Linked DNA regions of Homo sapiens: regions 1, 3 and 4 are each linked to region 2. The links are contacts of gene promoters, found by promoter capture Hi-C in human tissues and cell types (Jung and others, 2019). All regions are on one chromosome and are shown on one strand. The core of a region is centred on a gene start or on the middle of the fragment in contact, and the rest is flanking DNA. Distances in the headings are between cores, read along the strand shown.

The links. The method cuts DNA at HindIII sites, captures the fragments that hold promoters and counts their contacts. A contact is called where the count stands out against the background at its distance.
Region 1: a contact is called between the fragment with the promoter of EIF2B2 here and the fragment with the promoter of LTBP2 in region 2, in 1 of the 25 tissues and cell types used here (adrenal gland).
Region 3: a fragment that was not itself captured here is called in contact with the fragment with the promoter of LTBP2 in region 2 in 1 of the 25 tissues and cell types used here (lymphoblastoid cells).
Region 4: a fragment that was not itself captured here is called in contact with the fragment with the promoter of LTBP2 in region 2 in 1 of the 25 tissues and cell types used here (lymphoblastoid cells).

What each region holds. Positions count from the first base shown.
Region 1 is chr14:74,997,202-75,004,302 of GRCh38, forward strand. EIF2B2 (eukaryotic translation initiation factor 2B subunit beta) reads left to right here and starts at 5,720. Exons shown (of 8, transcript NM_014239.4): 1 at 5,720-5,952; 2 at 6,074-6,194; 3 at 6,350-6,498. The coding sequence starts at 5,790. RefSeq lists enhancers at 5,267-5,356, 5,398-6,078. The HindIII fragment of the contact is 11,364 bases long and covers 3,053-7,101 here.
Region 2 is chr14:74,610,921-74,617,950 of GRCh38, forward strand. LTBP2 (latent transforming growth factor beta binding protein 2) reads right to left here and starts at 1,317. Exons shown (of 36, transcript NM_000428.3): 1 at 531-1,317. The coding sequence starts at 1,024. LOC101928352 (a long non-coding RNA gene) reads left to right here and starts at 2,265. Exons shown (of 2, transcript XR_944029.4): 1 at 2,265-2,375; 2 at 2,647-3,128. RefSeq lists enhancers at 1,373-2,000, 6,609-7,030 and a silencer at 1,628-1,947. The HindIII fragment of the contact is 13,991 bases long and covers 1-7,030 here.
Region 3 is chr14:75,104,483-75,111,263 of GRCh38, forward strand. It overlaps NEK9 (NIMA related kinase 9), which reads right to left. Exons shown (of 22, transcript NM_033116.6): 9 at 5,839-5,889; 10 at 5,203-5,395; 11 at 2,861-3,005; 12 at 2,020-2,220; 13 at 1,468-1,514. Among named protein-coding and RNA genes, the nearest start is that of NEK9, 19 kb to the right of the region's middle. The HindIII fragment of the contact is 5,660 bases long and covers 2,471-6,781 here.
Region 4 is chr14:74,913,053-74,919,858 of GRCh38, forward strand. RPS6KL1 (ribosomal protein S6 kinase like 1) reads right to left here. Exons shown (of 12, transcript NM_031464.5): 4 at 6,793-6,806; 5 at 5,461-5,553. Among named protein-coding and RNA genes, the nearest start is that of RPS6KL1, 6.8 kb to the right of the region's middle. The HindIII fragment of the contact is 7,214 bases long and covers 1-5,788 here.

The DNA of each region.
Region 1 (7,101 bases), core at 4,470-6,969, 390 kb after region 2:
ACATGCCTGTAATCCCAGCTACTCGGGAGGCTGAGGCAGGAGAATTGCTTGAACCAGGGAGTCGGAGGCTGCAGTGAGCCAAGATCACGCCACTGCACTCCAGCCTGGCGACAGATCAAGACTCTGTCTCAAAAAATAAATAAATAAATACAATAATAATAATAAAATAAAATATAAAATAAAAATGCAAAGGCTCAAAACTAGTTAAGTAATTTTTAAAGAAAAGAATTAAGCAAGAAAAAATTTCTTACCAGAGATAAAAACTTTTCAATAAAACAATAGTTGCTGGGTGCAGTGGCTCATGCCTATAATCCCAGCATTTTGGGAGGCCAAGGGGGGTGGATAGCTTGATCCCAGAAGTTCAAGACCAGCCTGGGCAACCTGGCAAAACCTAATCTCTACAAAAAATACAAAAGGCTTGTGTCTGTAAATCCCAATTACTGGGGAGGCTGAGGTGGGAGGATCAATCACCTGAGCCTGGGAGGTCAAGGCTTCAGTGAGCTGTGATGGCGCCACTGCACTCCAGCCTGGGCAATAGAGTGAGGCCCTATCTTAAAAAAAAAAAAAAAAAAGACAATTGTTAAGATAATATCATATTGATTCAGAAATAGGCAAATTCAGCAATGAAACCAAATAGCCACCAAACAGACTCACATATTATAGAAACTTGACATATGACAGTGGTGACATTAAAAATCACTGGAGAAAGAATGGAAAAATAAAATTGGATTCACACCTCTCACCTTACATAAAAAGCAATTCCAAATTATATGTAATTCCAATTCCAATTATATGTAAAGATAAATGTTTTAGTAATCAGAAGAAAATATAGGAGATTATATTTATAATTGTGGATTAGGGAAGAATGTCTTCTGTTTTTTTGTTTGTTTGTTTGTTTGTTTTCAGACAAGGACTCACTCTGCCACTCAGGCTGGAGAGCAGTAGTATGATCACGGCTCACTTCAGCCTTGACTTCCCAGGCTCAAGAGATCCTCCCACTTCAGCATCCCAAGTAGCTGGGACCAGAGGTGTGAGCCACCATTCCTGGCTAATTAAAAAAAAATTTTTTTTTGTAGAGACAAGGTCTTGCTCTGTTACCCAGGTTGGTCTCAAGCTTTGGAGCTCAAGTGATCTTCCCACCTTGGCCTCCCAAAGTATTGGGATTACAGGCGTGAGCCACTGCACCTGGATGGATTTTTAAATTTTTTTATTTTTTTGAGTTGAAGTCTCACTCTGTTGCTTAGGCTGGATTGCAGTGGTGCTATCACAGCTCACTGCAAATTCAAACTCCTAGGCTCAAGCAAACCTCTCACCTCTGCCTCCCAAGTAGCTGGCACTACAGGCACATAGTAGCTGCCACTGTACTTGGCTAATTTAAAAAATTTCTTGTAGAGATGGCATCATGCTATTTTTCCCAGACTTGTCTAGAACTCCTCGCTTCAAGTGATCCTCCTACCTTGGCCTCCCAAATTGTTGGGATTATAGGTATGTAATCCCAACACCTGGCAAATCCACTGCACTTGGCTGAATTTCTGAAATAAGACAGAAAAGGCATTATGTAAAAAAGACAAGGTTGATACATTTTAACACATTAAAATCAAGAATTCTGTTCAAAGACATCTCAAAGTAAAGAAGACAAGCCATAATTGGGAGAAGACACTTATTTATATAATAAATAATTGAAAGAAGATTAGTATCTAGAATATAAAAAGAACTCTTACAAATCTACTTGGAAAAATTTTTAAGCCAAAAACAGTAGGTAAAAGGCACAACAAACAATTCACAAAAAACTCATGGCCAACAAACACATGAAAATATGAACAGTAATCAGGAAAATGCAAATTAAGACCACAGTAAAATATACTTTTATACCTACCTGATTCCCAAATAATAAGATGTTTGGTAATAACACATGTCAGTAAGGATGTAGGTCAGCTGAAAGTCTTTAAATATTGCTGGAGGGAGCATACATTAATTGAACCACTTTGTACTACTAGATCTATTTGTAAAGTTGAACATTCGTATAGCCTCTGATCTAGCTGTTCCACTTATATAAGTGCCAAGACATACACAGGACTATTTATAGTTTATGTTCACCCACCCCCCTAAAAAGATTGGAAACAACCCAAATATCTGTTGAAAAAAATGAATACATAAATTATGCTACAGTCACATGAAATATTAGTGCAAATAAGAGAACTACAAGTTCTTACCAGTACAAATTCACCAGTGCAAATAAGAGAATAACAAGTACATGTAACAACATGGATAAATTTTATGAATGTCATATTGAGCAGAAAAAAGTGAAATATACCACATATTTCCTAAATTGTAAAATAACACGGAACATAAATTTTACCATCTTAACCTTTTTAAGTGTACAGTTTAGTGAAACTAAACTGGCATGAAGTACATTCACATTGTTGTGAAATATAAATGCACAACCAGGCCGGGTGCAGTGGCTCACGCCTGTAATCCCAGCACTTTGGGAGGCCGAGGCAGGCGGATCACGAGGTCAGATAGAGACCATCCTGGCTAACATGGTGAAACCCCGTCTCTACTAAAAATACAAAAAAATTAGCCGGGCGTGGTGGCAGGCACCTGTAGTCCCAGCTACTGGGGAGGCTGAGGCAGGAGAATGGCGTGAACCTGGGAGGCGGAGCTTGCAGTGAGCTGAGATCGTGCCACTGCACTCCAGCCTGGGTGACAGAGTGAGACCCTGTCTCAAAAAATAAATAAATAAATAAATAAATAAATGCACAACCATTATCCACCATCTATCTCTAGAACTCTTCTCAACTTGCAAAACTAAAACTCTGTAGCCATTAAACAGCAACTCTCTCCCTCCCCTCAGACCCTGGCAATCACAGTTCTACTTTCTTTCTTTCCTTTATCTTTTTTGAGACAGGGTCTTGCCCTGCTGCCCAAGCTGGGGTGCAGTGGCAGGATCATAGCTCACTGCAGGATCATACATAGCTCACTGCAGCCTCGACCTCCCAGGCTCAAGAGATCCTCCCCCCTCAGCCTCCCAAGTAGTTGGGACTACAGACATGCATTACCACACCTAGCTAATTTTTAAATTTTTTGTACAGCTGGGGGTCTTGATATGTTGCCAGGGCTGGTTTCAACTCTTGGGCTCAAGCCATCCTCCCACCTTGTCCTCCCAAAGTGCTGGGATTCGGGTGTGAGCTACTGTGCCTGGCCAACACAGCTTTGCTTTCTATCTCTATTAATTCGAATATTTTAGTTTCAAAGTGAGGGATTGGTTCACATTCCTCAACCTGTTTGTCGTCATGCTTTATAACTTGCATACACACACATATAAATTCTTTAGTATATATAAAATACTATATACCTTGTTTTTTTTGTTGCTGTTGTTGTTGTTTGTTTTTGAGACACAGTCTTGCTCTGTCACCCAGGCTGGAGTGCAGTGACACAATCTCAGCTCACTGCAACCTCCACCTCCCAGGTTCAAGCTATTCTCCTGCCTCAGCCTCCCTAGTAGCTGGGACTACAGACATATGCCACCACCCCCCACTAATTTTTGTATTTTCAGTAGAGACAGGGTTTACCCACGTTGGCCAGGCTGGTCCCAAACTCCTGACTTTCAGGTGATCTGCCCACCTTGGCCTCCCCAAGTGCTGGGATTACAGGCATGAGCCACTATGCCTGGCCTATATACCTTATTTTCTTAATGACTTGATATATGAAAAAATAACGACAATATCCAAAATTGGCTATAATATGGTAAATGCTAGCCAGCATGTAAATTGATACAATTTTAAAGACATTTAAAAATTAACACACAATTAGCCAGGCATGGTGGTGTGTGCCTGTAGTCCCAGCTACTCAAAAGGCTGAGGTGGGAGGATTATTTGAGCCAGGGGAGGTTGAGGCTGCAGTGAGCAGTGAGCATGCCACTGCACTCCAGCCTGGGCAACAGTGTGAGACCCTGTCTCAAAATAAACAAACAAATCAATAAATAAAAACTAAAACACAGCAAAATTGACACATATTTTATGGCTTTTTAGAGCAACTGTATTTTCAACTTCAATTTCTGATGCTCATTGCTAATACATAGAAATATAGTTTTTGTATCCTTGCTAAACTTATGTTCTAGGAGGTTTTGTTTTTGTTGCTGTTGACTCTGGGATTTTCTGTGTACACTATCATGTCTTCTGTGAACAGGGACAGTTTCTTTCCATTCTGTATGCTTTTTCTTTTTCTTGCCTTATTGCAAGGGCTAGGACTTCACGTATAATTTAAATAGGAGTGGTGAAAGTAGACATCCTTGCCTTGTCCTGATCTTAGGGAGAAAGCAATCTTTTACTGTGAAGTATGATTTTTAGGTGTAGGATTTTGTAGATACCCTTTATCGAGTTCAGGAAGTTCCCTTTTGTTCTAGTTTTCTGAGAGTTTGTACCATGAATATTGAATTTTGTCAAATGTTTCTTCCTGCATCAATTGACATGATCATGTGGTTTTACTTCTCAGATTGTTAATATGGCATATTACATTGATTTTTAAGTGTTTAATCAGCTTTGCATTCCAGGTTTATGTTTCACTTTGTAATTACATATTATTCTTTTTTTATGTATTGCAGGATTTGATGTGCTAATAATTTGTTGCAATTTTTGCTTCTATGTTCATGAGAGATATTAATCTGTAATTTTCTTTTCTTTGTACTACCTTTGGCTAACTTTGGTATTGACATAATCTTTTTGGAGGGCAATTTGTTAATTGTAACAAAAGTCTAAAATGTGCTCGCCTATGGATTCCACTTTGAAGAATTTATCTTAAGGAAATAGAGATTTCTATTACACACATACTTTGGGTTCAGGTAGACCTGGATTTAAGTATGAACCCAATCCTTTATTAACTGCTTAAATTCTGTGGGTCTGTTTCCCAATCTGTAAAATGGGGATAAGAGGACCTATTTCAGACCTTATTAACTGAGACAATTCACACACAGTGCCCAAGAACCAGTAAGCTTTAAGTAAATGGTAACTCTTGGTATTATGTTATACTCTCTGGCCTCTCTGTAGGAGGACAATTCTGTCCAAATCAGAGGATGTCATCTTTGCTTCTGTATTGGCTCCCACTTTGAATCTCCTTAATCTTCCTCATCTCTAATTTCGCCGTCTTCTGTTAGACGTGTTAGGCCTTGAGAATACAAAAGCAACAAAAGATATCGTCCTTGTTTTCAGAGACATGAACCTCCTAGACACAGGCGCAAACGGTACCAAGCAATGTAACAGAACAAAAGTGAGACGTCTGCCCAAGGGGCAGCCGACCCTGGACATGCATTCAGAGCGTCAGTGTCAGCTGACACTCGGGAGTGACAGCTCGGGCAGTCACCGAGCTGGGAAGACAGGAGGGAGTGCCGCAACTTCTTCAGTGTAGCCTTAAGTCGCGGTGAGGGGCGCGTAGAGACTTGCTGCTCCCATAGCAACGGGACCAGCCACCCTCTACAGGCCTGACGGGTTACTTCCGTTCACCGTCGGCTGAGCCAAGAAAGGCCGCTTCCGATCCTCCAGCCCCCGAGGCGCGGGGGCGCGCGGACGCCCGGTTATAACTGAACAACCCGAGCCCCACGTCTCTGATTGGCTCAGGCAGAGGAAGGGGGCGGGAGATCGGCAACGAAGGGCGTAGCCGGCTTCCACTCAAACTTGAGGTTTCCCCCCATCCCCTCACAGCGGAAGCCGACCTCGCCCGCCCCGGAAGTGCAAACTGTGTGGTCTGGCAGGTGTGGATTCCGCCGGTGAAGGCTGAAGGCAGCTACCTTAAAGATGCCGGGATCCGCAGCGAAGGGCTCGGAGTTGTCAGAGAGGATCGAGAGCTTCGTGGAGACCCTGAAGCGGGGTGGTGGGCCGCGCAGCTCCGAGGAAATGGCTCGGGAGACCCTAGGGTTGCTGCGCCAGATCATCACGGACCACCGCTGGAGCAACGCGGGTGAGGCCGGCCTGCCTCCGCCGGCGAACCTGGCCCCTGTCTGTTCCCGATCCCAGGGCTGAAAATTTCCCAGGCCTCACTTCGCGTTGGCTCCTCTTATCCTCTCTCTTTTGGACTGTAGGGGAGCTGATGGAGCTGATCCGCAGAGAGGGCAGGAGGATGACGGCCGCTCAGCCCTCCGAGACCACCGTGGGCAACATGGTGCGGAGAGTGCTCAAGATTATCCGGGAGGAGTATGGCAGGTCAGGCTCACGTCCTGGGCTCCTGGTTGGATCCAGTGACACTTTTTGCACGGGCCCCTCTACCTGCTCGGAGACTTTATTGGAGCTGAACAGCCCTTGTTACCTGCCTGACCACTCCTCCCCACCTCTCTCTTTGGGTCTTGTTGCCTCTATAGACTCCATGGACGCAGCGACGAGAGTGATCAGCAGGAGTCCCTGCACAAACTGTTGACATCCGGAGGCCTAAACGAGGATTTCAGCTTCCATTATGCCCAACTCCAGTCCAACATCATTGAGGCGATTAATGAGCTGCTAGTGGAGCTGGGTAAGAGGCCTGATCGCTGGGAAAATGGGACTGGTCACAGGCACATAAGGGAACAGAAGCCTCTGAAGGTTGTTCATTAGCAGAGATGGGAGATTAGCTGTCTTCTGGTTCTCAGAGGTTTGTCCTCCTTCCTGATTAGGAAATGTTGCAACAGGTGACAGGACCAAAGTAATCCTCTCTACTTTTCCTTACAGACCAACCCTTGATAGACTACAGATCTGTGGAGTGGAACAGACTCTATTAGGACAGAGTTTTATTTTCATTGTAAAGAAACAAAATGAACTCCCTAGAGAGCCAAGGTCGATAGACCTCCTTCACTATCTGAATTTTTATACACACGTACACGTATACCATTTCTATCCCCCTTGTCATTGCGGTCCAAGTGACTTGCAGATATTCATTGTAATCAGAGGATGAAGAAGCTGCTTCCAAATTGCTCCCCCATTTTTTCTTCTCTGGCCAGTCTCTCTCATGTAGAAGTGTTGTGGCCACCTTTTGGAGGAAGACTTCTTTTAGGCCGAAGCTCTCTTTACCCTATTCTCAGCACTTTAGGATTTCCCAGATTGCCATTCCTTGGCTGAATCTACTGTCTTCAAAATCAGT
Region 2 (7,030 bases), core at 67-2,566:
GCCGACCCACGCCCCACGACACTTGTCCCGACGCACCAGCTTCGCTGCCGGCTCCCCTCCTGGAGACGCATCTACCTTCTCTCCATGGGGCCCCCGACACCTCCGCCAACCCGCGCTCTGAGCCAGCTCAACCTCCCCTGGGCGTCAAGAGCCTGGAGCGCCCACCCTCCTGCCCTCTCCCCGCTGCCTCTCAGATCCCGGCAGCGCTGCAAGAGTCTACAAGAGCTCGTTAGTTGCAGGCAGGAGGAACGCGGGCGAGTGGAGAGGCGCCTTGCGAAAGGATTTAACGTCGGGGCTCCGGGAGAGTTGGTAAGAAAGGATGAGGATGATGATCTATCTGCCTTCAACTCTTCGAAAGCGGATCAAATCTTCCAATCCCGATTTTGGAACCTCGGGGCTGTTTCCCGAAGTACTAAAGACAGAGGGACGAGGGTATGAGAGCGGCGCCCTCTCCTCTCGCCTGCACGCCCCTCCACAAATGAGCCCTGGCTCCCCTCTGTACCCTCCAAACTTCCCTCTCCCATGCTCACCCCGTGAGCCGCCCTCGCGGCGGGGTTGGGGGCGCAGCCCCAGACCGCTGTGGGGTCCCCAGGCGTGGGAGAGCCGGCGCGGCCCGGGTCCGGGGTGCTGGTTGCTGCTGGCCCAGGGGAGTGCTTCTCCGGGTCTGCGCAGGTGGCTGGACACGCCGCGACTGCTGCGCGCGGGACGGCCTCCTGGCCTCCGCCTCGGTGGGCCTCCTGGGGCTCCCCCAGCCCGGCTGGGCCCGCTCCACGGGCTGCAAGCCCGCGACAGGCGCGTCCTGCTCCCGGAACAGACTGTACACCTTGGCTGCAGCCGCTGCCGGGTAGCTGCCCCCAGGGCGCCGCAGTCGATTCGCGTCTCCACCAGCCGGCTCGTATCTCCCTACGGGGTCCCTTTGGGCATGACCCGCGCCCACGAAGAGAGCCAGGGTGAGCGGCAGGAAGCCTCTCCAGGGGTTCCGCAGGGCGCGCCCCGGGCTGCGGGCTTTGGTCCGCGGCCTCATGGCGCGGGGCGGCTGGAGAGTGGTGCGCGCGGGCACCGCGAAGAGCTTTGTGGTCGGCACGCTGGACGCCCGCGGGCTGTTCTCCCGGCCCCGCCCGGCGGCCAGCTTCTCTGAGTCTAGGGGGCCCTGAAGCGGCCGACTGGGGGCCCGGCTCTCGGCGGAACGAGGGCTGCGCGCCCCGAGCCTCGAGTCCGCGCTCCTACTCCAGCTGGGCTCGCACGGCTGCTGCACCTTCGCGCCTCCTCCCTGTGCCTGCAGCCGTCTGAAGGGGACCCGGACGGTTTTATTTTTGGAAACCTCCCCCGGCTTTTTCGTCTCTTTTATCCACACCAGGCCCCCTCCTCGGAGGGACAGCTCAGCCCCCTCATTACCGGAGAGGGAGCGAGGAATTCCAGCAACACCCACTTTGGCACCGGGAAGCCAGCGGGCGGCGAGCGGGCGGCGAGGGGGATTAACCCGTGCGGAGCAGGGGGCGGCGCGGGGCTGACCCAGGCGCTGGTCGGGCAGATGGCGCCTGCCACGACCGGGACACTGGGCCGCCTTTCTCCTGCTCTGGGCAAGTTCGAACTGCAGACCTGCCCCGAATCGTTCTCCCGCCCCTCGCCTCAGGGACCGTCTTTGGATCGGGGGACCCAGGCTGCAGCCTTGCAGGTCTGAAGGAAGCCGGGAGGGGCGCCGAGGCCCGCGTAGGGGAACAGGGCCGCCGCCCCCTCCGCTTGCGCCCTGGCCGCTGGGGGCGCCCTCCGCAGGGCCGGCCGGAGCGGGGGTGGCGCGGGGCGGGGCGCGGCGCGCGGAGCGCAGGGAGGTCCCGGGCGCGCCCCCTGGCGGAGCTGGCGGCCCTGGCGCTCCGTGGCTGCAATGCCCTGGCGCCGCCGCCTTCGCTCTGGATCTCAATCCCCTTCCACTGGCGTGAGGGTCACGCCTGAGCCTGGCGCGGTGATGGCTGCCGGTAGAAGAGGGGTCCTCTTTTTCTTTTTCTTTTTCTTTTCTTTCTTTCTTTCTTTCTTTTTTTTGAGACGGAGTTTCGCTCTTGTTGCCCAGGCTGGAGTGCAATGGTGCGATCTCAGCTCCCCGCAACCTCCGCCTCCCGGGTTCAAGCGATTCCCCTGCCTCAGCCTCCCTAGTAGCTGGGATTACAGGCATGCGCCACCAAGTCTGACTAATTTTGTATATTATTTTATTTTTTAGTACAGACGGGGTTTCTCCATGTTGGTCAGGCTGGTCTCGAACTCCCAACCTCAGGTGATCCGCCCGCCTCGGCCTCCCAAAGTGCTGGGATTAAAGGCGTGAGCCACCACGCCCGGCCAAGGGGTCCTCTTTTTCACCGAGGCAAAGACACGGAGCCTCTTGAGTAAGTCACTCAAGGAGATAGCGCATGTGAAAGAGGGGAGTGGAATCTAGGCCTCCCGCCTCTGGCTGAATCCATTCCCGGGATCCCACCCAGCCCTTCACTCTCTCGGGAATTTCCCAGAGGGGGATTCGGTGACCCCGATTGACCCAGTGTGTGCATTCACATCTTGTGTTAGCAGGGAGGCGGGCAGGGGTGTGGGAATGCTGACTGCCGCTGTCTGCGTGTCCCCAGTAATCAGCACACCATTCTCACCCATGCTCCCTCCCTACAGCCTAAAGGCTTGGATCAACAGGGCTGCCCCTGGCACATTTGTACAGCCTATTTCCCAGAGAGGCAGAGTGAAGGAGCTGGCATGTGGGCACCAGTTCACAACCTCCCACACCACACAAAAGACAAGCCCAGGTAATATCTACTGTTGAAATAAAGCCTCGACCCCTGGCCTTGGCCTACAAACCCTAGCTGGCTGCCCCCGCTCTGATTTCATCTGGCCTCTTGCTCTCCCTTACCCACCACACTGTGCTGCCTTGGCCCTCTCTCTGCTCCTTGAACAAGCCAAGTGAATGCCCCCTTCCCTCTACTGGAAGGTTCCTCTCCAGGATGTTAGAGGGTAGTTCCTCATCACTGCTCCTCTCAGATTAAATATCAGCTCCTGGAGTAGCCATCCCTGACCTCCAATCTAGAGCAGCCCTCCCTCACCCCAGTCATGACTCTAACACACCACCCTGTTTCATCTTCATAAAACAGTTGACATCATCTTGTTATTGATTTGTTTGCTCGTGTAACTGAATTTTTTAATGGGCTGAACCTAAAGAGGGACTATCCAGAAACTGCTCCACTACTACCTTCAACCATATTATGGTAAATTTCCCTTTCCCACCCTTAATGACATCTCAGGCAGAGTCCTTGGCTTGAGAGGTCATCCCTACCAGACACGAGAACTATTCTATTAATATAATTAAGACCCATTTTCAGACACAAAAAGTCTGCTCCTGTCCAGATCAAAATCTCATCCAAGTTAATCAATATCACATCCCATTTAATAGTCCTCCTCTCCCCTGTCCCTTTGCTAGAGATCCTGCAGTGGTGAGAGTGGGGTGTGGTCTGTTTTCCTGACCTCCCTTTTCTGCTGTGGCTCCTCTTTGTCAAGGCTGGGAGAGAGGTGTTAGAGGAAAAGTAGCAAAGTCTTATGTGACAGGTACCCTTGGTTGGCAGGTGCCAAGCGCTGGCTTTTTCATGGGCACATATGTGGGTTTTTGGGAGGTTCTCTACAGGACCTCCACCCTGAGTTGCCATAGCAAATTACTCTCTGGCCAACCTCTCGGAGACCCCTGCATCCTCTGTCTCTCATAGGACTGTCCCACCTATGCCAGGCAAAACAATGGTGGGTTGGCCGCTCCTCACCCTGCCCACTTCTCACCTTGCCACACAGGCCACTCCAGCGAGGCTCCACGATCAGAATTCTCCAGACAGGAAGTGCACACAAGTCTCTTCATTTATGTACGTCCTCAATTCCTAAAGACATATGTTGGGTTCTCCCATGAACTGTCTTGCTGTAGTTTAATGCACCGAGGTGCCTGTAACATCCAGCAACATAGTCAGCATCAGTGGGGGGACAGTTATAGGGACAGAGCCTCCTCTTCTTGCAGATGACTGGTTCTCTCTGGGAGCTCCCTTCATTTGGTTTGAGTTGGGGAGTTCCCTCAGGGGAAATCTCAGCCCTGCCCACAAATGCAGCAGTGTTATGCTTCAGTGACTTTCTTCAATCCCTTTCATTTGTAGACTGGAATTGAGGGATGTAGTTTGATTGCTGTTGAACCTGTTCTGCCTTTAGTAAGGTGTCTAGTACTTCTCTTCAGAATGCAAGAATATTTAGCCCTCATTGTTCTATCTTTGTGGCTTCAGCAGATATTCCAAGAGCAGAGGAAAAGTCCTATTCAACAACCTATAAAATCATTTCTTGTCTGACTTCCCAAACCACAATGACAGCTCTAAAGCAACAGATATCTTGTCTGCGTTGCTCACCACTGTTTCTGCAGAACCTAGAACAGCCAAGAAGTATGTGTGAAATGGATAGCTAACTGAATGAAGGACACAGTAATCCCATCAAGTGGGGAGGGCTGGTATCATTAGACCCATTTTAAGAGAGAGGAACTGAGTTCTGGGTGGCAGCTCCTGATCCAGGTTCATGTGCTTGCTGCCTTTGGGGCTGGCTCTAAAGATCTCCTTGAACCCTACCCCTTGCATTTGACCATGAATGCCCCTTAGTTCCCAGAATGCTGCGTTCTGTTCCTGGGATGCTGCTCCTTCACAGCTGTGGAAGCCCCAGGTCCACACTTACCTCTCCTTGCCCAGATATCCACCCACCTCTGTAGTTCTGGGCTCCCTTCCTCTCCCCGGAACCTACCCACTTCCTTCAGAAGCTCCCCTCTAGATCCCTCAAGACCCACCTCAGATCCCCGTGGGCCTCCAAAAGCCAGAAACCTTGGCATCATCTTCGTCCCTGAGCTATTTTTTCCTCCTGTGTGTCCAAGTCATTATTACTGCTCCGTCTCCTCCGTCTGCATTTCTGGAAGTCTGCCGCCCATTCATCCCTCACCCTTCGCCTCCGCCAAAACCCTCACGCAGACCAACTTTCCCTCACCATCGGGCGCCCCTTCCACTCCTCAGTGAGTACAAGTGGTCCTTGGACGTTCCCACCCTGTTCGCCTGGGGACCATAACCCAGTTCATCTACTCCAAAGACTGGCATCTTCTACCCCATCCCGGCGCCACACTCTGTCCTGCCACCTACTTACTGCCCATATCTCCCTTACCCTCTAACTGCTGGGACTGATTGCAGCTCTTCAGAATCTCCAATCCCACAAACACTTGAGTTTTGCTTTTTTTTTTTAACCTGCCAAAATCGATAGAGCCTACTTTAGTCCAAACGCCATACTAAGCATGTTACATCAATTGGCTGATTTAACCAACCAAAGGAGGCATTATGATTTCCACGCATACAAAGGAGGAAACTGAGGTTGGCAATGGCTACTGGCTTGCCCAAGATGGCACAGCTGATAAATAGCAGAGGCAGGATTCAAACCTGGATCATTTTCCACCTGAGCCCAAGCTTTTAAGGTTACACCGCCTTGCCTCCACCCCGGGCTTGTAAGCCTGGAGCCCTCTTCACAATTGAATCATGACCTTTCCAACCACCCCACCACTATCACCACCAAAGGAGCTCTAGGGCATATCCCCAAATGCCCTCTTCCCTGCCTGCCAGCCCACTGTTCATGTACCTGGAGCTCATGTACCTGGAGATGTGGAGTTATCAGAACTTTCTGCCACCCTTAATCCTCTTGGCCCAGTGAAAGAAGGGAAGCTGTTTCAGCATGGCCGCTGACTCACCGTGTGTCACTTCCCCACCCCCTGATTAAAGCCTTCTCCCTCATTAGATCGCTGCTAAGCCTACTCACCCATCTCTTGGGTCTGGAGAGGAAAATCATCTCTGGAAAACCCGGCAGAGAGAGTCTAAAGGGTTGATAAAGAGATTCCAGCAGGGAAAGGTTTGCCCAGACACATGCCCCATGCAAGGGACAGCAGTCTCCTGGACTCCCAGGGCAAACTCACTGCTTTTCCATGTCTCACTGGAATAATGTTGGCAGCCAGAGGTCTACCAGAACCTGAGCTAATTTGGTAAATAAGGACCAAAAACAAGGGCCACATTTCGGCCCCCTTTGCTGAGACCCAGACTCCTGAAAGAATTCCAGGGATTTTTCTTGCTTGGAAGTAACTGGACCTCCAGCCCTGAATTCCTCTCCCCAGGAGAGCTTGTTCCCCTGCTCAGAACAAATAACACATTTCCTGGTTAATCAGAGGGCAGAATCGCTGAAGGAAAGTTTGACTGGGCCCCCAGCCTTCCAGACGGGAGCCGCTCATGGGCTTGGATGTTCTGCTCCAGACACTGGGCAGCTGGGACCCCAGCACTGCGCAGCCTCAGCCTCCAGTTTGGAAGGTGCAGGCCGTACAGAGAGGTGCCGACTCCCTCCTGTGTGAGGTTGTTAAGGCCCGCAAAGGCTGCCAGAACCATTCCACCTTAGGTGCCATGACCTGGCGTCCCCTCAAGAATTCACAACCACCCTGCCCTGGTCTGCCGGTGCCTGTCTCCTCCAAGTGGGTATGACATGCTGGCTGGTGGTGATAGCCATGGTATGGATGTTCCTGCAAAGGTAAGGTGAGCTGGCCTGTATTTCAGAGTGTGCTGGAAAGGGCCCTCCCACAAACATGTGGTGAACATTTACGTCTTCTGTGAGCGGAGCACAGTTCTGAGCTCATTTCCGTCTTCTGTGAATGCAGCACAGTTCTGAGCTTCATTTGGCTTCTACTTTCTTATCTGAAAGTTGAGATAATGATGTTCTTTTTGCCATTTTTCTCTTCAGGACAAACTAGCTAGCCAGCCCTGTTTACCCTGTCATGGGGCTAGGGGCAGGTGTCAATTACTACTCCTCCATTTACCAACTGATATTTCATTTATTGTTTGTTTGTTTGTTTGAGACAGGGTCTCACTCTGTCACCCAGGCTGGAGTGCAGTGGCACAATCTCGGCTCACTGCAGCATCCACCTCCTGGGTTCAAGCAATCCTCCAGCTTCAGCCCCCCAAGTAGCTGGGACTGTAGG
Region 3 (6,781 bases), core at 4,051-6,550, 500 kb after region 2:
TTCTTCTTTTTTTTTTTGAGGTGGAGTCTTGCTCTGTCGCCCAGGCTGGAATGCAGTGGTATGATCTCAGCACACTGCAACCTCTGCCTCCCAGGTTCAAAGCGATTCTCCTGCCTCAGCCTCTTGAGTAGCTGGGATTAAAGGCGTGTGCCACCATGCCCAGTTAATTTTTGTGTTTTTAGTAGAGACAGGGTTTCACCATGTTGGCCAGGCTGGTCTCGAACTCCTGACCTCAAGTGATTTGCCCGCCTCGGCCTCCCAAAGTGCTGGGATTACAGGCGTGAGCCATTGTGCTCGGTCAAGGCTACTGTTGTCAACGAAGAGCTCAAGTTTTACAATATCAAAGAAAAGGTGACAGTTCCAGGTCAACTAAACAAGACAGCACCCTCTCAGTTTGTCTTAGTAATAGGTCCTACTTAGGGTGACCTGTCAAAAAGTTGAGAAAGAAGCTTCAATTCATTGCTGATTTTGTCCTTTGAGATGGAAGGCTGCTTGACAGTTACAGAAATTCAGTAGCCCTGTGGGGTCCCAATCTGGTCATTTTATAGGAGAGGTGACAGAGTACTGAGGTAATATCTAGGACTTCCAAATGCTCATATCTTTTTACAGCTAACTAGACAGGACTGGAGAAGGTGGGGTGATGCATGTGTGGGGTCACAATGGATGTGTGTAAAACCTGAAACCTCAACCCTCAGTTTCTGCCACAGCCTTTCCAGGAGAAAAGGAACAGCTGGGAATCCCATTGAGGATGGTCCCTAGAAATGCATAATAATTTAATTTTTAAAATATAAATAAAAACTGGTTTGGCTAAAAGTTCCCAAGGAAAGAAAAAAAAAAAAGAAAACAGAAAACCCAAAACACTGCTAACAATAAATGGTATAGCTGATTTAGCCAACCCTCCAATGGGTAAGCCTGTGCCCTAGGGTAGGTGGGAGAGATGTGACTGTGCTTTTCCCCCAGCTGGTATCAGCCTCTGTGAGCCTCTCACAGGGCCAGCTCTGGCAAGGCTGAGAGTAATTAGATAATATGTTTCATGCAACATGACCGCTAAACAAAAACAACTATTAATATTTCATCTGGTGGTCAACTGTAGAAACAGGAGAGGAAAATGGCTGTGTTGGGTTAAGAGACAGTATACTGCTTTACAGTATCTTCTCGAGTTTTCCAGGGTATTTGTAGCTATATGTGACTTTTCTGCTGTACACGCTGATTTTAGCTGTCATCCCTGAGTAAGATGTGACTTCACAATGTCCACAGTCGCTGTATCCACTTTCTCAATTTTCTGTGATTTGGTCAGATGACAAGACCACAGGGTGCTAAATCAGGAATCCTAAATTGTCAGTCTCCCAAACAGGAAACACTTCGGAAATAAATACCTTGATACAACAGAGCCAAGGAAAGAGGACATATTATTGGAGTCTGTGCGACTTAAGATAGGTTTTAGAAATAAGTTGCTTCTGATTTTACCTTTTGTGGTGTATAATAATCCTCTTCTGAATCCAAACCCAGTCGTCCTGAAACACACATAAGAATGAAAATCATTATAATGAGGGCTTCCTTCCCAGTGAATAGGTTCTGTAAGATTCTCTTTTGCCAGGTGCGGTGGCTCACACCTGTAATCCCAGCACTTTGGGAGGCCGAGGCAGGTGGATCATGAGGTCAGAAGTTCGAGCGAGACAAGCCTGGCCAGTGTGGTGAAACCCCATCTCTACTAAAAATACAAAAAATTAGCTGGGTGTGATGGTGTGTGCCTGTAATCCCAGCTACTCGGGAGGCTGAGGCAGGAGAATCACTCGAACTCGGGAGGTGGTGGTTGCAATGAGCCCAGATCATGCCATTGCACTCCAGCCTGGGTGACAGAGAGAGACTCTGTCTCGAGAAAAAAAAAAAAAAAAAAAAAAAAGATTTACTGAATTAACACTTCTCATTTAGGGGCTGCATGATGGGTTTAGATGCATACAACTTTGAAGTCAGGTTGTATACCTGTGAAGAAGTGGACAGAGACAAGGCTACCCCTACCATATTCGCCACAGCCCCAAGAATAGACTTCCTTGTTTCGTGTCAGAACCACCACATGATTATCTCCACAGGAGACCTGCTCCACTGGATTGCTGAGGAAGAAGTTCAGCTGCATGGGTTCTAGCACTTCAGGGCCAGCAACTTTGTCCACCCCCATGCAGCCATAATAATCTGATCCGAAGGCATAGAGCTGACCCTCATCTGCAAAAGAAAGGAAAACAGAATCCATCAAAGGACTGACTTATTTTATCTAATCAGAAAGTTGGGCAGGGCTGGAATGAGGACTACCCCAGCAAATGATCTCACATGAATTGATTATATCCAAGAAATTAAAAGGACAGACTGTGCAAGTCTAGAGTTCTATGTCAGAGAGTCATGTGTACTACTACTACTATATTAAACAATTTAAAAAGTGGTAGCATTATCACATTAAAAGGACTTAAAATTTTAATGGGGCCATCTTTGTTATATAGATAAAAAAATAAGTCCCAAGGAATCATTAACTAAGTAATGACAAGACCAAAACTAAACTTAGGTCTTGATCCTAATTTTGTGTTATTCATAGCCTGATGAGGTGGTAAGATTATTTTTCCTGCCAACCACGACACACATTTTCTCCTGATCCCACCTCTTCTCTGTTACCCACCTGTCTTCTCCTTGCTCACCACCCCCTAATACTATAGCAAATTTGGTATGTTATTATTAATGAGTATATTTGCTCAAGGTCCTCTGGTTCTTTGTATACTGTCTTTTGTTTTAAAATCCCAACTAAGATTGCACAGCATTAAGCAAAATACCCCCACATTAAATGCACTTAAGACACTTTCTGCTGATGGCTTACCAGTCACACAGACAGTGAAATCATCACCACATGACACCTGACGGATAGCTTTGCCTTGCAACTTTTCCACATGCTTTGGCTGTCGATAGGAGGCTTTGTCTCCATGGCCCAGCTGACCATGGAGTTTAGTGCCTCCTTGCATGTTCTGTGAAATAAAGAGGTCTTATGACTTTTTTTTTTAATTACATTTTATTAAACTTAAATTTTAAAGAGATGGGTTCTCGCTATGTTGCCCAAGCTGGTCTTGAACTCCTGGGCTCAAGTGATCCTCCTGCCTCGGCTTCCCAAAGTGCTGGGATTGTAGACATGAACCACCATCCCCGGCTGAGAGGTCTTATGAAGTTTTAATTTTTCATGCCAAAAGCTGATCTTTAATGGAACTTCATATGAAGAAAAACAGTAGAAAAAAAGAGCTAGAAATTTAGAAATTAGAAAAAAATGGGCAAAGGGATTAAACATTTTAATAGCAAGTAGTATACAGATCCTGCCAACAGGTAAAGAAAACTTAAAAAGTATCCAGATTAATATCCATTAATCTAATCTTTGTCCTTCAAGTCTAAGGTAAACTATATATTTAATTACAGGTGATGGTGAAAAAAATTCTTTATAATATAGTCTAACTTTGTTGCTTTCTACAGGAATATAGCTTCTTGAAAATCTGTACTAGAAGTTTCATAAATTTTGGTCACAGTTTCCCTGAAACATGGAAGAGTTATAAAGAATCTGGCTACATCAAAGAGGCTGCTATACAGCAATGAGACTAGTCCTTGATGACTTTTCAACTTTTTTTTTTTTTTTTGAGACAGAGTTTCGCTCTTGTCACCCAGGCTGGAGCGCAGTGGCTCGATCTCAGCTCACTGCAAGCTCTGCCTCCTGGGTTCAAGCGATTCTCCTGCCTCAGCCTCCCAAGTAGCAGGGATTACAGGTGCCCGCCACCACGCCTGGCTAATTTTTTGTATGTTTAGTAAAGATGGGGTTTTGCCATGTTGGCCAGGCTGGTCTCGAACTCCTGACCTCAGGTGATCCACTCGCCTCGGCCTCCCAAAGTTTTGAGATTACAGGTGTAAGCCACCATGTCTGGCCTTTTCAACAGTTTTATAGAGAAAAATAATTCTATTAAATGAGTATACTACAAGTCCTCATATTTTATATATATATGTGTGTGCGTGTGCGTGTGTGTGTGTGTGTGTGTGTGTGTGTGTGACAGTATATATATATATTTTTTTTTTTGAGACAAGGTCTTGCTCTGTCACTCAGGCTGCAGTGCAGTGGTGCAATCTTGGTTCATTGCAATCTCCACCTCCCAGGCTCAAGTGATTCTCATGCCTCAGCCTCCTGAGTAGCTGGAATCACAGGCATGCGCCACCACTCTCAGCTAACTTTTGTATTTTTAGTAGAGATGGGGTTTTGTCATGTTTGCCAGGCTGGTCTCAAACTCCTGGCCTCAAACAATCCACTCGCCTTGGCCTCCCGAAGTGCTGAGACTTCAGTTGTGAGCCACTACGCCCAGCCAATAAATGTTTAAGATACTAATTTCTCTCCAGCAGCCTGAAATGAGCCTGAGAACGCATAGCAAGAGACAGGAGGAAAGCCAAGAGAACATGCTATCACAGAAGGCAAGTAAAGACAAAGCTTCAAGAAGGAGGGAGTGGTCAACTATGTCAAATGCTGCCGAGAGGTCAAGCTAGGTAAGGACTAAAAAGCATCTGTTTTATTTTAGCAATTTATGGGTCATTTTGTCAAGACTAGTTTCAATTGAGTGGCAGTGGCAGAGATGGAAGCTGCATTGTAGGTGAATGAAGAGAGAGTGGGAGATAAGGAAACAGACAGCAAACACAGACAATTTGTTAAGGAAGGTGAGAGGGGAGAATCTAGAGGGCAACAAACAAATTCTACACAAAATATACCTAGCCATCTTCAATCACTGCTGTGGGCTTCAGGGGTTTCCTGACATGGTATAGTCCTTCCTTTGTTTACAAAGCTATTTCACAGGTAATAGTTGCTCTGAACCTCATGGTAATATAACAGAGTAATTGAGTGACTTGTCTGAAATCATCCAGCTGTAAATGGGAAACCCCAGTCTCCTGAGTCTTTCAATTTTTCTCTCCCTCTCTCATTCATTCATTCAAAAAACATTTATAGGTGACCTAATATGTACCAGCCCTGGGCATACATCAGTGAACTAAACAGACAAAATCCCTGCTCTTATAAGAGCTTCCATTCCATCACCCCATGTTGCCACTCCCTTAGTATAGGTTCAACTAATAAAATGCTTAGACATCGTGGGCCCAGTAAACAATTAGGCTTACAGCACTGTTCCAAAATGCTTAGCGTTCACTTACCACCCAAGTGTACAGTTCCTTCTCCACTGTGACCACAGCAAAGTGGGTATTCCCTGCACAGACCTGCCGGGCACTACAGCCACTCTTGATAACATCCAGTTTCTGGGGGGTGGATTTTCCACCACCCCAAACATAGACTTCACTGGTTCGTGATGTTACTACAGCAATGGGTGCTTCAGTCACAGTGCTTGACCTGCCAACAACCCCCAGAACAAAGGAACATTTAACATTAAAAACAATATCAAAGAAAAATGCTTCCAGTCTGTTCCCTGAGAAGAACTGCCAATTATGGTATGAGAAAGTATGTTCTTTCTCGACAACTTGTTTCAATGTGCTCTATCACAGCAGACTTTGCAATTCCTGCCTCAGGGCTTCATCACAGCTTGGCCAGATCAGATTCCAGTCTGACCCATAACACCTACACTTTTCCACATTCATCATGGTAATGATGGCCACTTTAGTGTGAGGGTGAAATTATAGCTTTCTTCTTAGAAATGACTGTCTGACATTTAAGCAGATGCTGGCTCCTGAAAGGATGCCAAAGTATCCTCGGATCAAATAATGCCTACACTCAAGAAAGAACCCCCTGGTTGTAATTTCGGATATATTAGTTTTTAAGAGTCTCTTGAACATTACCTTGGTCTCTTTGTAGGTGCATTAAGCAGAGTGACTTTTTCCTCCATCTCTCTACCAAAAGAAAAGCAAAGATACATGAGTGAAATAATAGGTTTTTATATTGCAAAGGTGTCTGTTTAATACATTTCACAGATTTAATCCTCTTATAAACTGTATGCATCCTACAACATCACAATACTTTTAGCAAAGTACCTCAATACAACTCAAAACAGTTATATAGTCCTTTCATTAGACAATTCATTAAATACCCAAAGGCCAGCAGTTTGGGGCCATTTGCTTTCTGTCTCTGAGAAATGGTCCAGGCTGGAACAGAGAGCCTTGAGAACCTCTGATGTACATATTTAGTATCTGATGGACACCTTCATCTAGTCTGCCCACTGACTCCCAAACTCAGTATCTCCAAATATGAGCTTGTTAGCTTTTTCCCAAATGAGCTTTTCTTTCTGACTCCTCTATTTCTGTAACTAGCCGCAACACCCTTCCCCAATTCTCCCAGTCAACTGGGCTTAAAACCTCAGTCATCTCTGATTCATCTCTCTCCCTTTCTTTAATATTCAGGTTCTACAGATTCTACCTATATAGTACTTTTTGTACTCACCTCTTCCTTTCCAGTCTCACCACCTTAGTTCTGGGTAGCTCTACTTCCCACCTGTACTGTGATAATACCTCCTAATCAGCCTCACTTACTACAGTCTTAATCATTTTACTATACTAATTTAACACAGATACTAATATTGCCAAATAACTCTTCCTTAGGTATGCCTCTCATCACGTGAACTGCCCTCTCGCAAACATCCACCATCTCTCAACAGTGGATGTGATACCCACTCTATCTTTTGCACTACCTCTTGAATTAACCACAATTTTCTTGGCCTGGCATGCAAGATTTCCTACCTATTTTTCCAGACTTCCTTCCTTTTGTTTGCACCCCACGTTCTAGCCC
Region 4 (6,806 bases), core at 932-3,431, 300 kb after region 2:
GGAGGCTGTGGCCAGCCATGGTCGGGGTGGGAACTGGGCCCTGAGGCCAGGCTGCTGGGCAGTGAGGAAGGCCACAGCTTGGGATCAGGGTAGGGGAAGGGGCACTGGGCTTCGATCCTGGGCAAATTGAATTGATTTTCTCATCTACCAACCAGGAATTCCAAATGCCTACCTTCCCTACATCTCTGGATTGTTGAAGCCATTCTGAAAGCCCTTGGTGAGGGCCAGGTGTGGTGGCTTATGCCTGTAATCCCTGTAATTTGGGAGGCCAAGGCGGGTGGATCACCTGAGGTCAGGAGTTCAAGACCAGCCTGGCCAACATGGTGAAACCTCGTCTCTACTAAAAATACAAAAATTAGCTGGGCATAGTGGTGCCCGCCTGTAATCCCAGCTACCTGGGAAGCTGAAGTAGGATAATCACTTGAACTCAGGAGGCAGAGTTGCAGTGAGCCTAGATCAAGCCACTGCACTCTAGTCTGGGCAACAGAGACAGACTCCATCTCAAAAACAAAACAAAACAACAAAAAACAAAAAACCAAGAAAGCCCTTGGTGAGTGGAAAGGCTGTGAGAATGTCAGTGATCACATCTGCCAAGTCACATGGCCTCTCTGAACCTTGCTCTTTTTAAGTACAAAACGGGGTCATAGCAGCACTTCCTTCAGGGGGTCCTGAAGAGGATTCTGTTAAAGCAGGCAATTCAGGCAGAGCAGCAGCCTGCACCTGCCGCAGAACACACCCTTGATAACCTGTCGTGATTATTACCAGTGTCATCCGAGGGGAAGCCCACCCTGGCTGTAAAGTGGTTACTCTGTGCTAAGCACTTTACATAGGTTGTTTAATTTTATCCCCACAATCCTGCCAAAATTCAGGCCTGAGCCTCAGAGAGGTTATGTTGCCTACTGTCCCACTGCTAAAAAGTGGTCAAGTCAGGACCTGAACCCAGACAGGCTGATCCCGGAGCCCTGCAGACTTTACTGGAACTGGGGGCACAACCAGGTGACCCTGGCAATGGCCTTCCCTCCTGAGCCTGTTTCTCCATCATCAGTGAAAGGAAGGCAGTGGACTAGATGAGAGCGCCCAGGACCCTTTTCTCAGCAGGAGCGAGGTGTCCTCTCCAACCACCAGAGGTCTCTCCTCCAACAGCCAGAGACCGAGTCCAGCCTGGGCTTGGCTCCCTGACCAAACTTGTGCAATGTTAGAAAAAGCAAGGAAGAAAACTCTGGAGTCATTTAGGAGAACAGAGTTTCCCACAAATCCTGACACCCCAGATAATTCCCCACTGTCCCTTGCCAAGTGGGATTCCCCACCACCTGGTCCTGGGCAAGGGCCTGTAACTGACAGAGTCCAAAAAAACTAGCGAAGGAGGGAAGGCTGAGGAGGCCAGAAATAAACCTTGATCCATACACTGAAAGATTTCTGTTAAAAACATATTAAAACCAACCTCAGTATTCAGAAATAATTAGACTAAAACATTAACAGTGATTATCTTGGAGTTCGGCAGGATTCAGGGGATTTTCTTTTTCTTCTCCTTTTTCTTTCATTATATTTCAAAAGGGCAGCAAAGCAGCAGGCATTTTCCCATTCATCCAACCAAACAAGAAACTCCTTTTACTCAGTGGTTTGGAGGATGGAGGACTGTCTAGTGCCTTGACTTCTTTGTTTATTATTTATTTTTTTGAGACGGAGTTTCACTGTTGTTGCCCAGGCTGGAGTGCAATGGTGTGATCTCAGCTCACTGCAATCTCTGCCTCCCAAGTTCAAGCGATTCTCCTGCCTCAGCCTCCCAAGTAGTTGGGATTCCAGGCATGTGCCACCACACCCAGCTAATTTTGTATTTTCAGTAGAGACGGGGTTTCACCATGTTGGTCAGGCTGGTCTTGAACTCCTGACCTCAGGTGATCCACCCACCTTGGCTCCCCAAAGTGTTGGGATTATGGGTGTGAGCCGCTGCGCCCAGCCCCGCTGACTTCTTTGAACCTCAGTTTAATTCTCTGTAGGACAAGTATTAAAATGCAGCACTGTCCAATTGAACTTCTTATCATGATGGCAGGATTATATGTCTGCACTGTCCAATATGGAAGCCAGTAGCCACATGGGGCCATTGAGCACTTGAAATGTGACTGGTGCAACTGAGACACAGATGACTTCATTTTAATGAATATGAATGCACAGAGGCTTATGTGCCTAGTGACTACTGTGTTGAACAGCACCCTATAAGGCTTCGTTCCCCCATGGTGACTGTGAGGATTTAATGCCACAGCTCTGTAAATGAGAAGGTTCCATACAACTGTCGGGTGAGCCTTCCATTTGGGAAGATGGAAGGCAGTTCTGAGTGCTTTCTCTCACCTTTTAAAAAAGAGCAATTGTTTTAAATAAAGAGACCCACTGAATTCTTGGGACAGAGGGACAATTAAAGCTTTGGTGAAACACGGTAAACCTTTTCTTTAAAGATGCACAAAGTATCAAAATCCCAGGAGGACTCTCCCATGGAACAAACAAGCCTAAAGGTTTCAAACAAGTTCTTAAACTCAAAGGTCCACAGGGGCCAGGCATGTGAGCAAATAGGCAGGGTGGAGGCGCAGAAAGGAGGGCTGGTGCCCCGTCTAAGGCAGGCATCTCCTCCTCCACTCCCTGCTGCCACAGGGGAATGGGAGGCCAGCGTTTCCAGATCTGATTTTTTCAAGAGAAGCAGGAAATCTGGACTTTTATAAGAATCTGCACATTTTCAAATGTTGGTAACAACTAAAAAAACCCAAAAAACAAACAACAAAAAAAACACCCCTGTGTTTAAGCCAAATAAAAGAAGAAGTGACTTGGATGACCTTCTTTTTCTTCCTCCACCCTGTCTCAGAGCCTGGCTCCTGCACGAGGCTCAGCAAATACCCGGTGATGTCTCCCTGGCCCCCAGGCTCTGAGGCCAGGCCCTCGGGTATTCTGGCTGCTTGCCAAGTCCCGACCCACCCACCTCACTGCTCCCTGCCACCATCTCTTCAGCCCTTAGTTATCCTAACAGCCGGACACGTTAGGGGTCACTCAAGCATCATCCCGAGCAAGCCCTTTGCTTCCTCCCTGGGCCTGAGGGTTGCTGCTGGCTGGCACTGCCCACTTGCCCAGATCTGTCTGGGCACAGCTGTGGAATGGAACAAGGGTGACAGTATATCCAAGTCTGGCTGCAGGGACCCAGGCCCAGGGGCAGTAACACCTTTCCTAATTTGAGGAAAGTGATGCTCCTGGCTTGGGCATGACACAGGGAAAGGAAGTAGGATCTCAGGAGGGAGGTGAAGTCCTTAAGTTGAGTACCCAAGACAGGATAAAAAAGAAAAAAAAGAAGGGTAGTCCTGAAATAGAATGCGGCGGGCCACTGGCTCACGCCTGTAATCCCAAGTGCTTTGGGAGGCCTAAACGGAGGTGGAGGATCACCTGAGGCAAGGAGTTCGAGACCAGCCTGGGCAACACAGCGAGATCTCTCTACAAAAAATAGAAGACAATAGCAGGGCTTGAGACTGTGGTCCCAGCTACTCAGGAGGCTGAGGTGCGAGGATTGCTTGAGCCTGGTAGGTCGAGGCTGCAGTGAGCCGAGATCACGCCACTGCACTCCAGCCTGAGCTACAGAGCGAGACCCTGTGTCAAGAAAAAAAAAAAATGGTTGGGCTTGGCTTTAATTTGTGCTTTCCATCTGCAGGGGCCTCGAAACACTGGATTCCTAAACCACTTTCCTGAGGCTAAACAAGTTTGGGGAATTCTGTGTCACAGTGTACATCTGCACCTAAACACTCTAAGAACTCCGATCATTAAGAAACAAAGCCATATAACTTCAACTCGCTGTTTTCCTATCATACTCAGCTCAGAACCCCTCTCACCACAACACCTATGGTTCAGCGGGATCGTACCGGGAGGCACGGTGTCAGTCACCTCCCGGCCAGTCCCTGGGAACGGCTGTGCTCAGCCAAGGTTGGGTCGTGGCCACTGACACTCAAGCAGTGGGGAGGGGACCGTGGCAGATGGAAGCTGGCAGGGCCTGCGCTGACAGTCTGGGACCTGCCCCAGGGACCCAGGAGAAGCAGCTGGAGTAAGGCCCGGGAGCAGAAGCCTGCGTGCCTCCCAGCTCACTCCTGTCACTTGTATTTAGAGCCATCAAGCACGTACTCAGTGTCACAGCATGTGCCAGGTCTTTCCCCAAAATTGTTTTGTTTTACCTCCCAGATCACCCCATTGGGGGAGAATTCTCATCTCACTTTCCAGAGGAAGAAACCACAGCTCAGAGAGCAGGGGGCTTGCCCGTGGCCACCCGGGGTGGTGCCCAGCGCGGGGCCTTCCCTCAGGCAGCATGTCATCCTCTTGCCTGTGGGAAGTACAGGACTGTCTCCTTTTCTCTGTGGGCCCCCAGATCTACCAAAATCACCCAGTGAGTATGTTAAATAACAGATTCTTGGGCATCTGTATTTTTAGGAAGCTCTCCATTTAGCCAGCTTGGTAAAGAACTTCTTGGGTGACTATTCCAGGGTTCAGGGGAAGAGGGGAACCTCATACTGGCTGGACTCTGATTTGACCTCATTGTCTGTCCTTCTAATCAGAAGCACTCTAACAATGAGTGCCCCGAGTAAGGGTTGGGACGTCGCCTCCTATCTTCTTGTCTGCCCTGAATAAGGCAAAGCATGCGAGATAGCATTGGGACAGGGTAAAGTTACAGTTAGGTCAGGAGAGGAAAAAAAGGGCAGACTTGCCAAGGCCCTGGGCAAGGACGGGCCAGAACGGGCCCTCTCTGGACAGGTTTCTGGAGTTGAGCACGTCCCAGCCGCAGGAAGTCCCCAGCTGTGCTCGGTAGAGCGTCTTGGCTGCAGCCCTGGGGTTCAGGGTGAGTGTGGTGGGGGTGCTGTGGGAAGCGGGAAGTGGGAGTGAGCAGGGCCTCGAGGACTGGCAGGGTGCCCTGGGCATAGCTCCTCGCTCCTCCTGCAGTTTCTGTCCCAACTCTCCCAAGGAGCAGGTTTTCTGGATCTGAGCTGCAGGGCTGTGGAAAGGGCCTGTCTGCCTCTTCTTTTTATATTTTATTTTATTTTATTTTATATTTTATTTTATTTGAGATGGGGTCTTGCTATGTTGCCCTGGTTGGCCTCTAACTCCTGGGCTCAAGCAGTCCTCTTGCCTTGGCCTGGTGCTTGGCCCAAAGTGCTGGGATTCCAGGTGTGAGCCACTGTGGCTGGCCAATCAGCCTCTTCCCGTTCCCTGCATTTTCCTCCCCAGGACCCAGGACCAAAGTCATGCGTGTTAGGGATGGGGGAGAGGTGGGAACTGCTGGAAACAACTGCACTCGCACTCCCCACTGACCCCTGCCCACCTCCTCTGGAGGAGTGGGGGCCACTGCTACAGACCTGCTTTCAGCATATCATGTCTCTCTCCCCACCGCCACCCCAAATTGCATACACTGTCTCCCTCCTGCAAGGCGAGTGTCCACTCACTCACCTTCTCGATGACCCCGACCACCCTGCAGCCCCTCAGCTGCTCCACGGCAGAGCTCAGCGTGCGAATGGGCCGGAGCCTCAGGCTGCTGAAACCCTGCAGAGGAGGGAGACAGGCCACACACAGCCTCAGGGCCGAGCCCTCCTTGGCCATGGCCTTCTCACCAGGCATCAGGCAGGGGCTTCTGGATGCAAGGAGAACAGCTGGGAGGGCAGGGGTATAGGCAGGCCCCACCCCACAGTGGCAGGCTGGGTGGAAAAGCTGGCCTTTACCGATAGGCACCCATACTGGTCCAGGGTGGTCAGGCCGACCTCTCTGCTGAGCCCGTCCAAGGCCCATGAAGTTCTCTGGGCTTCAGAAGCCCCCTCTCAAAAGCCCCATCTAGGCCAGGCGCAGTGGCTCACGCCTGTAATCCCAACACTTTGGGAGGCCGAGGCGGGCAGATCACTTGAGGTCAGGAGTTTGAGATCAGCCTGGCCAACATGGTGAAACCCTATCTCTACTAAAATACAAAAATTAGCCGAGCATGGTGGCGCCTGCCTGTAACTCCAGCTACTTGGGAGGCTGAGGCAGGAGAATCGCTTGAACCTGGGAGGCGGAGGTTGCAGTGAGCCAAGATCACGCCACTGCACTCCAGCCTGGGTGACAAAGCGAGACTCCATCTCAAAAGATGCAGATGCTCCCAAGGTGGGGATAGGGAAGTAACCTGGGAACGTGTGAGTCTCAGGGAACGTGCCTTGAAGACCAAGCACCTACTTTGGGGAAAGGCAGCCGTACAGGATGCAGTGAGCCAAGGAGGGCTGCGTGAGTACGCGCAACCGTGGGGTAAGAAGCGTGCGTGCATTTTCCACCCTCACTGAACACTTACTGGTTTAGAGAAAGCCATGTGGGGACTGTGTGTGTGCACATACATGCACACAGATATGTGTGTGTGCACACAAGGGTGTCGGGGTCTGCTCCAAATTGCATGCCGGTTCACAAGAGACAGAATCAGGAGGCTCTGAGTGTGGACACACATAAGCGTGTAAATTGAACGGTGTGCAAGGCTGGCAGATGTCTATGTGCACACATGGCAAGTGCTCTGTGAGGGAGGCAGACGACTGGAGATGACTCAGTGAGTTGTTTGAAAATGAATGAACCATGAGGCGTGGGAGAGAGAGGAAGCCAGGAGGAAAAGAAGATGGGCCGCCCTGGCACACTCCAGCCCAAATAATGACTTCCACTGCCGGCCTCTGCCCTGCAGCCCAGGGCGGGCCTGTGGGTGTCGGGGCCTCCGCAGTCTCCCCTCAGAGCCCTCCTCCCGCTCAGGCCTTTGGGTGGGGGGGGTCTCCTCACCGCGCTGGGGCTGG